Linked DNA regions of Homo sapiens: all the other regions are linked to region 3. The links are contacts of gene promoters, found by promoter capture Hi-C in blood cells and fetal thymus (Javierre and others, 2016). All regions are on one chromosome and are shown on one strand. The core of a region is centred on a gene start or on the middle of the fragment in contact, and the rest is flanking DNA. Distances in the headings are between cores, read along the strand shown. Region 1 has its middle 12 kb from the start of KCNK10-AS1. Region 2 overlaps KCNK10 (potassium two pore domain channel subfamily K member 10). Region 3 holds the start of GPR65 (G protein-coupled receptor 65).

Region 1 (4,335 bases), core at 293-2,792, 140 kb after region 3:
CAAGTCACACCTGCATCACATGCCTTGCGAGGGGGGACAAGGGAACTTTTCCCATTTCACTACTACCATGCTGGCTGCAGCAGGGAGTTGCGACTCAGCCTGTACACTCCATGGAGTTCCCTGGGCACCACTGCAGCAGTCCCAGGCCTCCTGGTCTATGGGCCAAGCTGCAGCTGCAGATCCAGGCCTCCTGGTCTATGGGCAGCCGCCCAAACTACAGCTGTGGGTCCGAGCCTCCCTGTGCTCTTGTGGGGAACCGGAAGCAGGCAGGATCTGCCCTCTGGGGTGCAGCTTCAGCTGCCCAACCAGCAGCTGCAGACCTGGGCCTCCCACTCCATGGAGCAGGCAGGAGCCAGGGACAATCGGGAGCTCTGCCCCTTCCAAGTTGGTGGGGTGGGAGCTCCCTGGGTGTAGCTGCAGCTGCCCTCCCAGGCACGAGACCTGAGCATCTCTGTAGTCTGCCTCCTTGGGGGTGGGAAGGCCCTCCCCACTGATGGCCCTGTTGGCTCTGGGCTGTCTGCTCCCATTGTCTGGCCTCGTTCCTCTCCTGGCACCTGCTTCCATCCTGGAGTGAGGTTGTGGCTGAGCCCTGGGGCCATTAATACCAGCAGAAGGCAGATTGATTCCTCGGTGGGAAAGGGTTGGTCTCCAGTAAGGCCCCACTTTCAGGCCAGGAGGTTGGGGGCTGGGCTGCCAGTCCCACTGACCAGAGTGGGGTCTCATAATACCTCTTCTGGACCCACCCGTGGCTGCCCATGGATCAATCAGCAGACACTTTTTCCCCTCTGAGGTCCATAAAAGCCCAGGGCTCAGCCAGAGTAGGGCACAGGATGGCCTGAGTCAGAGAGACAACTGCAGAGGAGGACCAGCTGCAGAGAGGAGGTACCCTCTCTGCTGAGATCAGGAGAGACATCAGGATGACCAGTGAGCAGAGAGGAGCTACCCTCTCCAGGGCCTCTGCTCTGCTGAGAGCTGAACACTCCACAGGACAACCAGCCTATAGAGAGGACTTATCCACTCTAGGCCTCCTCTGAGCTGTTCTAACACTTTATAAAGCTCATCTTCATTTTGTTCACCCTTCACTTGTCACTCTTCATTTATCTATATACCTCATTCTTTCTGGATGTAGGACAAGAACTCAGGCAAACGCACCACTGGCGACAGAGGTTTCTGGCCAGAAAATTGATGCCCCAAAGATCCCATAACAGTGTGGTTTCTTGTGGAAGCCAAAGAGAGCTAAACTGCTTTGCTTAATGGAGCAACCAGAATCTTGGAGCTGTCTGTAGATGCCACCAGTTTGGGGAGTAGTGGGTGGAGTAGGGATCTTAGAAGAAATGGATGAGGTGGACAAGTAGTAAGGAAAACAGGAATGAAGGACACCTAGGGAGAGTGCCAGTTAAGTCCCCATAGCCTGAAATAATTTATGAATTTTGTTTTCTATTCTATGCAGTGACAAAAGCCCTTCTGTTAACCCAAAACCTTCAGCTACAGAAACAGAAGTAGCTTTTTCACTCTGGGATGACAAGAGCAAAAAACAAAGAGCTACAAGGTGCCAGGAAACTGAAAAAGGGAATTCAGTAGGATCAGGAAAATGGATAAATGAAAGAACTGGAGAAATTCAAGGCTCATAAGAAGTCCTTGGATGCATTTGGGAAGATGCAATCTCTGCAGGGTCCAAGAATGGGGGCTCCAGCCAGGCAATTTTGTTACTATAGGAGAGAACTGTTGATCTGGAAGACAGGAAGATCCAGGGCCTGAGTTACTAAAACATGAAAGTTGCTAAGTGCAGTGAAGGTTCTCCCTGCTCCTTTCATCCAATTCTCATGTTGCTTCTGCTGTTTCAATCTAATCCCTTATCCTCAACCTTAGTCAGGGGCCCTCTTTCTTTAGTGCATTCTTCTAACATTAAATCAACATGAGGATCATTCCCTAATTTGGGAAAGACAGTGATTGGAAATCAGCATTACTCTTTTCATCCCCAAAATATCACATTCTACTCCATCCTTGGATATTAATGCCTTCCTTGCCTTCTGAGGTGCTTGTCCTTGCACCATTTCTAATCCACATATTCTCAGATTTCTCTCTTCTCCCTTTTCTTCCCTTTCTTCTTTCATTCTACTATCCTATTACTAACTATATTCAGAGCATAGGACCTCAATGTAACCTTTTGTATGACTTTCCTGTTCAATGCAATTTGATTACAAAGACTTTCATTGACTTGAAACTTCTGTCTTCCCACAGACCTATTAAATGGTGAAAACAAAAAAGATTGATCTGGTATCTAATGCTGACTTTCTTTTAGAGTATGTAGGGGAACATTACTGAAACAACCATTTATCTTTTTCATTCTAAGGCTTTGTCCCCTGAATATCTGACATTCAGGCTGTCTAATGACTATACAGACTGGATGGGGCTAAAAGTCACCAATTCAGGGCAACTTTTATGTCTGAAGTCTTGATACATGTTTTTTACCAGCCTACCCCAGCTCTTCTCTGAAGTACTTCCATAAGCCTGTCATTTCTAAATATTCTGATTCATCTAGGCAAGGTAGATTCCACAGAATTCAGGGCTGAAAATGATATAATCATAAGTGTCAGGAAAGACTGAAAACCCAATATTGCTCTGAATAAAATCTAATTCTCCAAAATGCCCATTTGCTTGCCCAACCTGAAACCCAGCATGACAGTTTTACTTCTGTAGTCAAGGCACAGAAGCAATATGAGAGTGTCCCCAAAAACTGTTCTGGTGTCAGGCAGACAAGGATGCTGCCACTTCTTGAGCTGTGTTTACCTTGGGTGGGTCTACTTATCCTCTCTGAGCATCGGTTTCTGCATCTGTAACACTGAAATAATTAGTCTTCTTGCCAAAGTTTGTATAAAAATTGAATTATATGTGTCAGGTGCCTAGCTGAGTGTCAAGCAATGAGTGGCTCCTTAACAAAGGTGACAGTCCCGCCCTCTACCTCCCCTCCTTCTTTCCTGCTAAATAGACTGTTTCCTTTTATCCTTTGACATAAGGGTCATTTCCTACTTTGGAAGAGAAAGAGAGAGATTAGAAATCAGCATTAGTCTCTTCTTTTCATTCCCCAAATACCGCAATCAACTCTATCCTTGGATACCGATGTAAGGAGATGACTTTAGTGCTCCAAATCCCTCACAATCAGTAAATGACCTTATCTTCTAGCAAATGGCAGGTGCAAGAGTCAATCCTTCACTAACAATGCTGTCCATAGCACATGAATTTCCAATTAGCTTTAATGGCAGTAGCGCTCTCTGGCTTCATACAACCATGATGATTTGCCGGCCTCTTCCTCCGGGAAGAATAAGTTAACAGAAACGCCAATTCCTTTATTCAAGCATTTGACAGTAGGCCTTTGGGTGTGCAGAGAAGCACAACAATTGTAGACCCCTGTGAAGCTCTGGAAAATTTGAGAATTTGTGAAAAGTAGAAGAGTAAAGTTGTTAGTGTAGTCAACCAGTCACATAATGAGAAACCCTGGACCCAGTTATTCCTAGGCAAATATGGCACAAATTAACATAAAACCAAACAGAAAGGAAATACTCTTGGTAGGAAACTTAATGGGTCAATTCAGTAAGTATTTTTTAAATTTGTATACATTTATGGGATACAAGGGAAATTTTGTTACATGGATGTATTGCATAGGGGTGAAATAGGGCTATTAGTATATCCATCACTGGAATGACTACATTGTACCCATTAAGTAGTTTCTCATCATCCACCCTCTCCAACCTCCAACCCTTCCTAGTCTCCATTGTCTGTCATTCAACACTCTATGTACATATGTACACATTATTTAAGCTCTCACTTATAAGTGAGAACATGCAGTATTTGTCCCTGTTTCTGAGTTGTTTAACTTAAGACAATGGCATCTAGTTCCATCTATGCTACAAAAAACATGATTTCATTCTTTTTATGGTTGAATAGTATTAATATATTATATATATATCTTACATTTTCTTTATCCAATCATCCATTGATGGACACTTAGGTTGATTTTATGCCTTTGCTAATGTGAATAGTGCTGCAATAAACATATGAGTGCAGGTTATCTTTTTGTTATAATGATTTCTTTTTTGGGGGGTAGACACCCAGTAGTGGGATTGCTGAATCAAAGAGTAGTTCCATTTTTAGTTCTTTTAGATACTGTTTCCCATAGAGGTTGTACTAATTTACATTCCCACCAGTGGCATATAAGTGTTTCCTTTTCTCTGCATTCTCTCCAACATCCTCTCCTACATTTTTGTCTTTTTAATAATAGACAGTCTGATGTAAGTTGGTATCTCATTGTGGTTTTAATTTGCATTTCTCTGATGA
Region 2 (4,120 bases), core at 216-2,715, 250 kb after region 3:
AATTTAAATGAGTTACTACACGTGAAGCATTTAGAGCAGTTCCTGTCCACAGTAAGCACCATGCCAGAATTGGCTAGCGATATAATTAATACTGAACCTCAAGCTCCCTGAGGACAGGGTGGAGGCATCTTGCATTTTTTATTGTTTTTTAATCGCTAGAGCCAAACATAGCACCTGCTTCATTATAGGTACTAAGTAAATATTAGTTATATAAATGAATACATTGTATTGTGATAAGTAATAAGAGCAATTGTAGGAACGAGACACCATCAAAATCTCATTATTCCATAATGTATACAGCCACACTCTAAAGGAGAACAAACCCATGCACATTTGGAAAAAAATGCAGTCACAGGAGCATTCACTTCTGGGTTTTGGTTTTATTTTTATGGGAGTTTTTTTAGAACATTGAATTCTCATTTGCAAATTCATTTTCCAGTGGCATGCCAATTTCCATTACCTCTTTAATTTCTGGCTTAAAAGCTTTAGATCTCCTTCACTAAACAGTGATGAAATCAATAACCCCAGGGATAGAAACAGTAATAATAATGACTCGGAGGCCTGTAGACACAGGCTGGGGGCTGCAGGCCTGATCTTGCACACATTGAAGCATCTTTTGCGTGACTGCCTTGCTGGTGAAAGGGCAGCTCTTCTAAATTCAAAGCAACAGCCAGGAGGAGTCACTTCAACTCAGAGTTGTGCCCCTGGGCTCAAAGAACCCGAACCTGCACTCTCCAGAGCTCACCTGCTGCCTGAGCTGCTACCTAAACTTCCTGGACTAAAGACTGCTTGAAATAGGGGATGGCCCAGGGCAGACAAACAGAGGGCTGCTCTAGATCTGCACTCTGAAGTCACAACAAGGATTTCCATGAACATCTCAGGTGCCGTGCTTTCCAACACGCTGCTTTCCTAAAAATTCTTATGTCCCTAAATAGGGAAATACGTAAAGCTTCGACGGCTATAGATACCAAGGGAATCTGCTCATGCATAAAGAAGACAACAAGGTGAGTTTTTGTCTTAGCTGGGTGTGGTGGCACACCCCTGTAGTCCCAGCTTCTCAGGAGGCTGAGACAGAAAAATCACTTGAATACAGGAGGCGGATCCAGAGAAGTACTATTGACAACCAGACCAAAAAGAAAAGACTTGTAAAACAGAAACAAAAGAATTTTTTGCTTTCCTTCTGTGAAAGTTCTAAATGAAGGGCTCTTGGTCTTCAAACAGATACAAAGGCTGGGCACAGTGGCTCATGCCTGTAATCCCAGCACTTTGGGAGGCCGAGGTGGGCAGATCACAAGGTCAAGAGTTCAAGACCAGCCTGGCCAATATGATGAAACCCCGTCTCTACTAAAAATACAAAAATTAGCTGGGCGTGGTGGTGCACACCTGTAGTCCCAGCTACTAGGGAGGCCGAGGCAGAAGAATCGCTTGAACCCAGGAGGTGGAGGTTGCAGTGAGCTGAGATCATGCCAAGGCACTCCAGCCTGGGAGACAGAGCAAGACTCTGTCTCAAAAAAAAAAAAAAAAAAAAAGAACAGACACAAAAAGCACCATTCCTTCATTCCTCAAGCCTTTAGCATTTTCTATTGGCCAGCCACTGTGCCAGGCAGAAGGGATATATTGATAAAAGACATAGATTCAACTTCAAAGAGCTCACAGTCATGGAAAGAGGACAGAGAAAAGTAAAGGTCATCCAAGAGAGTCTAGCAAATGGGGGGCAAATGGTGCCAAGCAGGACACGACCCAACATAAAGGGCCCATAAAGGCTTCCCCCAAGAGTTGAGTTTTGGCACCACTGAGGACAATTGAGTTCAGAACTCCAGAGCAAAACACTTAGCAGAGTGCCACAGTTGCCACTCCATAAATGTTTAGTTATTGAATTAATGAACAAATAACTTAAAACCCTTTGGGTTTATACGAAGAACCAAAATGGCAATGTACTGATTGACCAGATTATATCACTCTGCTACTGAAAACATAACTGTAAGCTTCACAGTGCTCTTAAGATAAAATTCAGAATCAGCACCTGCGTGGTTTGGCTCCTGCCTGTCTCCAGCCAAATTGCTTTCTAAGTTCCCTTTGCTAAATGCCCTTTGGCCACATTTGCTCACTTCTCTCAAGTCCTCAGCCATGGCATGTTGCTTCCTCCCATCCAGGGCCTTGACTCAGCCCTCTCTGCCTGGAATCTTTGTCCTACTAAATCAGTTCTCCTATTTGGGTGTCCCATAGCTCTAGCTCCCTCTCCTTTGCAACTTTCATCTGGCTTTTAGTTACAATTATTTGTGTAATAACATGCATAAGGTTTGGCTCTCCCACTGTCTATAAGTAGGGTCACTATATATTTTATATTTCAAACCAAGACACTTTTTTTTTAATATAGATGGGGTTTTGCCATGTTGCCCAGGCTGGTCTCAAACTCCTGAGCTCAAGTGATCCGCCTGCCTCAGCCTCCCAAAGTGCTGAGATTATAGACATGAGCCACCACGCCCAGCCCCAGGACACTTCTGAGAGAGAAAGGGGCACTATTAACAATTACTCCAGAACCACAAAACCTGGGACATTTGGTCATCCTAGTTATAAGCTCCAAGAAGGCAGGGACCATGTCTGTCTTTTATTCACCATTACATCCCAGCATCTAGCACAGTAGGCAATCAACAAGTTTGTTGAATGAAAGAATGAATAAGTGAGTGAGCAAATGAGTAAGTGAGTGAGCAAGTGAGTGACTCGGGTCTTGGCAGAAGGGCAGAGCCACAGCCTTGGGAAATGTTTATGGGTCATGCAAATTACCAAGGAGATTACCAACATCTCCTTGGTTATGGAGAGAACAGTTTGACAGTTCATAATATCTAGTCCTCTCATCTGCAGAATAGCAGCTTTGGTTGCCATGACAACATCAAAGGTTCATACCCAGGACCACAGCACAATACCCACTCCTCACATGCCGCTGCCCACATCTTAGACTAAATCTTTCTCCACTAAAACATGGTAGAGTCAGGCCCAATGCGCACAGCCAATAAAATGAGTCAGTAAGCCAGAGGCCAACAATCTGGCACCCCAGCCTTGTCATGCAGGCTCTCTGTATGTCAGAAAGGTTACAAATACAGGAAGAGGACAGGAGAGAGAGCTCTGCGTTAGAAGGCAAGCACTAACTGTCACAAAGGAGCCTGCTCATCATGTTGTTTGAGTGGGTTTTCCCTTCGTCAGGAGGAATTTGTCTTGATCCAATTATGTACTCTCTAAGCCCACCGTGTCAAGCCAAGGAGAGTACGATTAAGAGAGCGTGGCCTCTGGAGTCAGAGAGATCTAGCTAGACTCAAGTCCTGCTTTGGTCACTAGCTAGATGCAAGAACTTTACCCTCTGTAAAATGGGGCAGCAACAGTGGCCGCCTCTTGGTGCAATGGAGAGAGGCAAATGAAGCTAAGTAATATATGTAAACTCTCTAGCACCCAGCCAGCACAGAATCAGTGCCTAATAAATAATGCTGACTGGAAAGAGTCAGGGGAGCAGAGGATAGGGAAGGATTTGTTAAACAGGACATAATTACAGCAAGATAACAGGAATAAATTCTAGTGTTCTATACCACTGCAGGATGGACTACAGTTAACAATAATCTAGTATATAGTTTCAAATAGCTAAAAGGAGGATATTGAACGTTCCCAACACAAAGAAATGATAAATGTTTGAGATGATGAATATGCTAATTTCCCGGATCTGATCATCATACATTGTAGGTATGGAAACATCACGAGGTACCTCATAAATACATACAATTATTATAGGTCATTTTTAATTTTTTAATGAAAAAATAATAAATCTTGCCAAATAATACTCATCAAACACAGTACTGAGCAAAGTATCTGAAACTCTATTTGGAAAGGATTAAAAAAAAAATCCTTAGCCGGCACAGTGGCTCACACCTGTAATCCCAAAACTTCGGGAGGCTGAGGTGGGCAGATCACCTGAGGTCAGGAGTTTGAGACCAGTCTGGCCAACCTGGCAACACCCTGTCTCTACTAAAAATACAAAAATTAGCTGGGGTGGTGAAGTAGCCTGTAATCCCTGCTACTTGGGAGGCTGAGGCAGGAGAATCACTTGAATCCAGGAGGCAGAGGTTGCAGTGAG
Region 3 (4,095 bases), core at 1,589-4,088:
TCGCTTACTACCTCAGAACAGCACCAAGCCATTAAGGAGGGATCTACCCCCATTGCCCAAACGTCTCCCACTGGGCCCCACTTCCCACTACTGCCACACTGGGAATCAAATCAACACCAGCTTTATAAAGACAAACAAACCATACCCAACTATGACAGTGAGGTCTCTCAGGTACATACTCCTGAGTCTCTCCTTGGAAATGAGGCACAGGTTCACTCTCCTCCCCAGATCACACAACTCATCTAGGGTGTTTGTCACCCACCCCTACCTCAGGGCTTGCTTGGAAGTGAGTACAGCAATCAGGATGCAGGGCCCCTTTCTCAAGCACTGACCACATCTAACTCTTGAACATACTTCCTCTCTCACAACGTTAAACCCAACCCCCGCCAAGCAGGACAATCTTTTTCAGTTTTGGGGGCTGGGAAGCTTTACTTTATTTCAGCACATATTCTCCCAAGCATAGTGTCTGTGCCTCAGTCTTTTCCAAGGCCTTGAATTTTTGAAAGTCAAAACTCACATTGTCTTCTTTTTTTCCCCCCCGCTTGTGCCAGAAATTTCCTTGAGGCAATAAATGCAAAATGGCTCACTGATTGTGTAAGGGTAGGGCTAGAGTGAAAAGAAATGTGGCTGGGAAAATATAGCATTATTTCAAAATCTTACCCTGCCATATTTAGTTGCCGCTTTAGCTAGTGAAATTACACCTAGCAGATAGTGTGGCCTCACAAAGGACCCCTTCATCAGTAGAACACACTCTTGCACTGTCTGCCCAATGGAGAAGTTGGAACCAGGTAGATCCACAATCTCCTCCCCATTACCCCATGAGTAGCCCAACTGGCCAGTGTTGGGTCCCCAGATTGTGACCACAGAAAACCAAATAATTGACTGGTCAGAAATGCCAACCCCGTTAAGGCAGTGTTCTGAATAACTACTAATTGTCTTTATCTCATTGTTATGTTGTTAAAATGTCACAGTGACTCAATGATTTAAAATTTCTAACCGTTCATTATAAAAGATAGCCCTATAGTTGAAAATACAGTATTGCCATATTTTCCATATTAAGAAGCAAATTTCTTAAAAGCTGGTAAATTTCTTATTGTGTAGAGTTGGCAAGGTTTTAGCATAGGTCAGCTCCAGCTTTTTCTCCTCTTTAATCAGAAGTGAAAGTTTGTGTTTCTTATGTTTCTTAATGATAATCTTTTTCTTTTGAAAAGCAAAATACATGAATATTAGATATGGACATGAAAATACCCTTTCCCTAAAAGCAGAAGTATAGTCTATTCAGATAAAGTAAGAGATCATCAGAGTAATGAAATACCTACGTAACAATGCACTTGTACCCCGAACTTAAAAAAAGATATATCATGTATAGAAACCACAGATAAGCAGATGTACGAAACCAAGCAAAAATGAGAACTTTGAATTACAGTCACAAGTAAACTGAAATCGTTACTTTTCATTTTTGTAAAACTTCAAGACATTTATTGTTAATTTTTTACTTTATACTTAATTTTTATTATTTCAGTAACAATATATTGATTTATAATTTACTATATGCTAAATTACTTTATAAACTATCCTGTGCTTTATAAATGTAAGGTATTAGTTTTATTATTCTCAAAGAAAGACCTACAACGGAAGTATTGAAAATCTTTACATTCCTGATATACCCTGATCAACTTCAATATGGAAAGCCTTGCTTATATACAGGCTAATCTTTTCTATCTCTGGGTAGGGAGAAAAAAACAACAAAAAAAAAACACCAGCAACAACCCTTAATGTCCTTTAACAAACACAGATTCAAAATGTCCTGATTACATCTTTAAAATTAAGTCAAATGTTTTCATCCCAAATAAATTCTGTTCTTTCAAATAATATTTTCCCTTCATTTCTAATAAAAGTTTATGAGGGCAAGATTCAAAAGTGATATTTCTGACTTTTTTATATATCAATAGTAAGAAAGTTATAGGAGCTAATTTCACTTCATATTAAACCACTTATAGATTTGGCATTAACTTTAACTTGCTAAAGTACAAGAGTTTTTATAATAACAATGTAAGTCTTAAATAAAATTTTCAAGTTTCATAAAATTATTTGTCTCAGCTAGTTAATTCAACTGGTTTTTAGCCATCTCTGTTTCCAAGAGGAGAGAATCAAAGGAGAAAATAGTTCTACAATCAAATACTATATATCTAATCCCATTAGTCTCTCAAAAAAAAAAAGAAAAGAAAGACGGTATGAGGTTGGCTACCTTAACCCCTGCCTTAAGCAGCACAATATCCATCATTAAACCCCTCAGCCTCAATTCTCCCTTTTCTGTTTTTGTCCCAGGAACTTTATCACCCTGAATCTACCTACAATATCCTCCCCTATCTCACACATCCAAATGGTTCATTCTATTTTATCTGTACCCCTCTTGAAGTACTTCTTCATTTTGCCATTGCATTACAATCATTATTAAACATGTCTTTCTCCTTTACTAGGTAAAAAAAGCTGCTTTTGGTTGATAGCCAGTTCGTATACATCTCCCCGCACACTGCTGGCATGATGAGTGAATGAATGAATGAATGAATGAATGAACAAAGAAATAAATAAAATATTTAACATATATTCCATTAAGTAAAGGGCATATAATATAATATCAGTACATACTTGTAATTAAGATGCAATGAGACAAGTGAGTTATAAAAATTACAGTACAGTAAACAATAAATAAAAACATCTTTAAAAGTATTTAAGAGACTTTTTTTGTTCAAACTTGGATAACGCACACCCTTCTCATTGAGATGCTGCTTCCTCATTGGTTTGTGCTGAAATATGAGTGCAATTTCCTGTCCCCTCAGCAGTGTTGGTTTCTCTTCTTGACTTGATGCAGGCACAGATTTATCAAGCTCCTCAGTCAACAAACACATCACCGGAAGAAATATGGGTAAGTATAAGATTAAAAAATAAAATAATATTTTAAAGTAGATAACATGCTTTGGCATAATTGTCAGTGATGTTCGCAACATTCTTCCTGGTTTAGGCTGTATAAATGTGGTAATGCAAAGCATGATAAGAGAGAAAGAAATGAGGAAGACACATGGTTTCCTCTACTTTGAGCAGTGGTAAAGGGCCAAACTTTAAATTTAGAACTAATTAGGCAAAACCATAGATATAGAAAAAGGGGGTTGTTCATACTTTATTTTCTTTTCAGGAAACAGTGCTTTGGCAAACTTCATTCAGTATTAGGAAGAAGCCTACCAGCCCCTGGCTTTAGAGCTATCTGGCACCAATCCCTCATCTGTACAATGGTCCAGTAAATACTTTTTATATCCATCAGAAAAAAATGTGATATTAGGAAAGAATATTTCCAGTATTAATAAATGTCAAGTAATAATTATTAGTTAATAAGTGACTACCACAGTGCCTGAAATATATAGTAGAGTCTTAATAAGTAACTATTAAACTGATAGATGAAAGCAAGCATTTTCTATAACACTGTAGGAAAATATTGTACTTTTGGTCATCGTCATCAATGATTTGTACTATTTTTAGATCTGTTCAAGAATAGATATACTTTAATATACTGTAGATTGTCTTTTTTGACATCTGGTAAAAATTAAAAAATTAAAAACTCACCAAAATTTCTCAGTGCTTGTTCTAAAAACAATTTTCTCAAAATTTGATTAAAGGAGGCAAAATAATATCTGAAAAGATATGTGAATACTGTAATAGGAATTATATACAGTATTCCACTAAAATCTCAGATCCACCCAAATTAAATGAACAACTATTATCTGCAGAGCCTAGTATTATACGTGAAGTGTTACCATATAAATTACACTCTGAGCACCTCCAGCTTTTCTGCTATGCTGTGGCTAGATGACTAAAGATGATTTCTTTTCAGAAAATGTAGGGGACAGCACAAAGATTGGTGCAGACTACCAATGTCATTAAAACAATATTACCAGCTAACGTACAGTGAATGCCTCCCATGTGCTAGGAACTTTGCTTCATATGTCGTTTCATTTAACCCTCACAACAATCTTAGAAACTGGGTACTAACTTACACATGTGAAAACTGGAACTTAGAGAGGTGAAGAAACACCAATGGGC

The links. The method cuts DNA at HindIII sites, captures the fragments that hold promoters and counts their contacts. A CHiCAGO score of 5 or more calls a contact.
Region 1: a contact is called between a fragment that was not itself captured here and the fragment with the promoter of GPR65 in region 3, in 11 of 17 cell types (naive CD8 T cells, total CD4 T cells, naive CD4 T cells and 8 more). The highest score is 11.7, in naive CD8 T cells.
Region 2: a fragment that was not itself captured here is called in contact with the fragment with the promoter of GPR65 in region 3 in 1 of 17 cell types (monocytes); the score reaches 5.0 in monocytes.

Annotation. Positions count from the first base shown.
Region 1 is chr14:88,146,774-88,151,108 of GRCh38, forward strand. No RefSeq gene overlaps it. Among named protein-coding and RNA genes, the nearest start is that of KCNK10-AS1, 12 kb to the right of the region's middle. The HindIII fragment of the contact is 8,467 bases long and covers 1-4,335 here.
Region 2 is chr14:88,249,725-88,253,844 of GRCh38, forward strand. All of the region lies in intron 2 of KCNK10 (potassium two pore domain channel subfamily K member 10), which reads right to left. Among named protein-coding and RNA genes, the nearest start is that of KCNK10, 71 kb to the right of the region's middle. The HindIII fragment of the contact is 1,036 bases long and covers 948-1,983 here.
Region 3 is chr14:88,002,297-88,006,391 of GRCh38, forward strand. GPR65 (G protein-coupled receptor 65) reads left to right here and starts at 2,839. Exons shown (of 2, transcript NM_003608.4): 1 at 2,839-2,926. RefSeq lists an enhancer at 3,254-3,423. The HindIII fragment of the contact is 4,497 bases long and covers 425-4,095 here.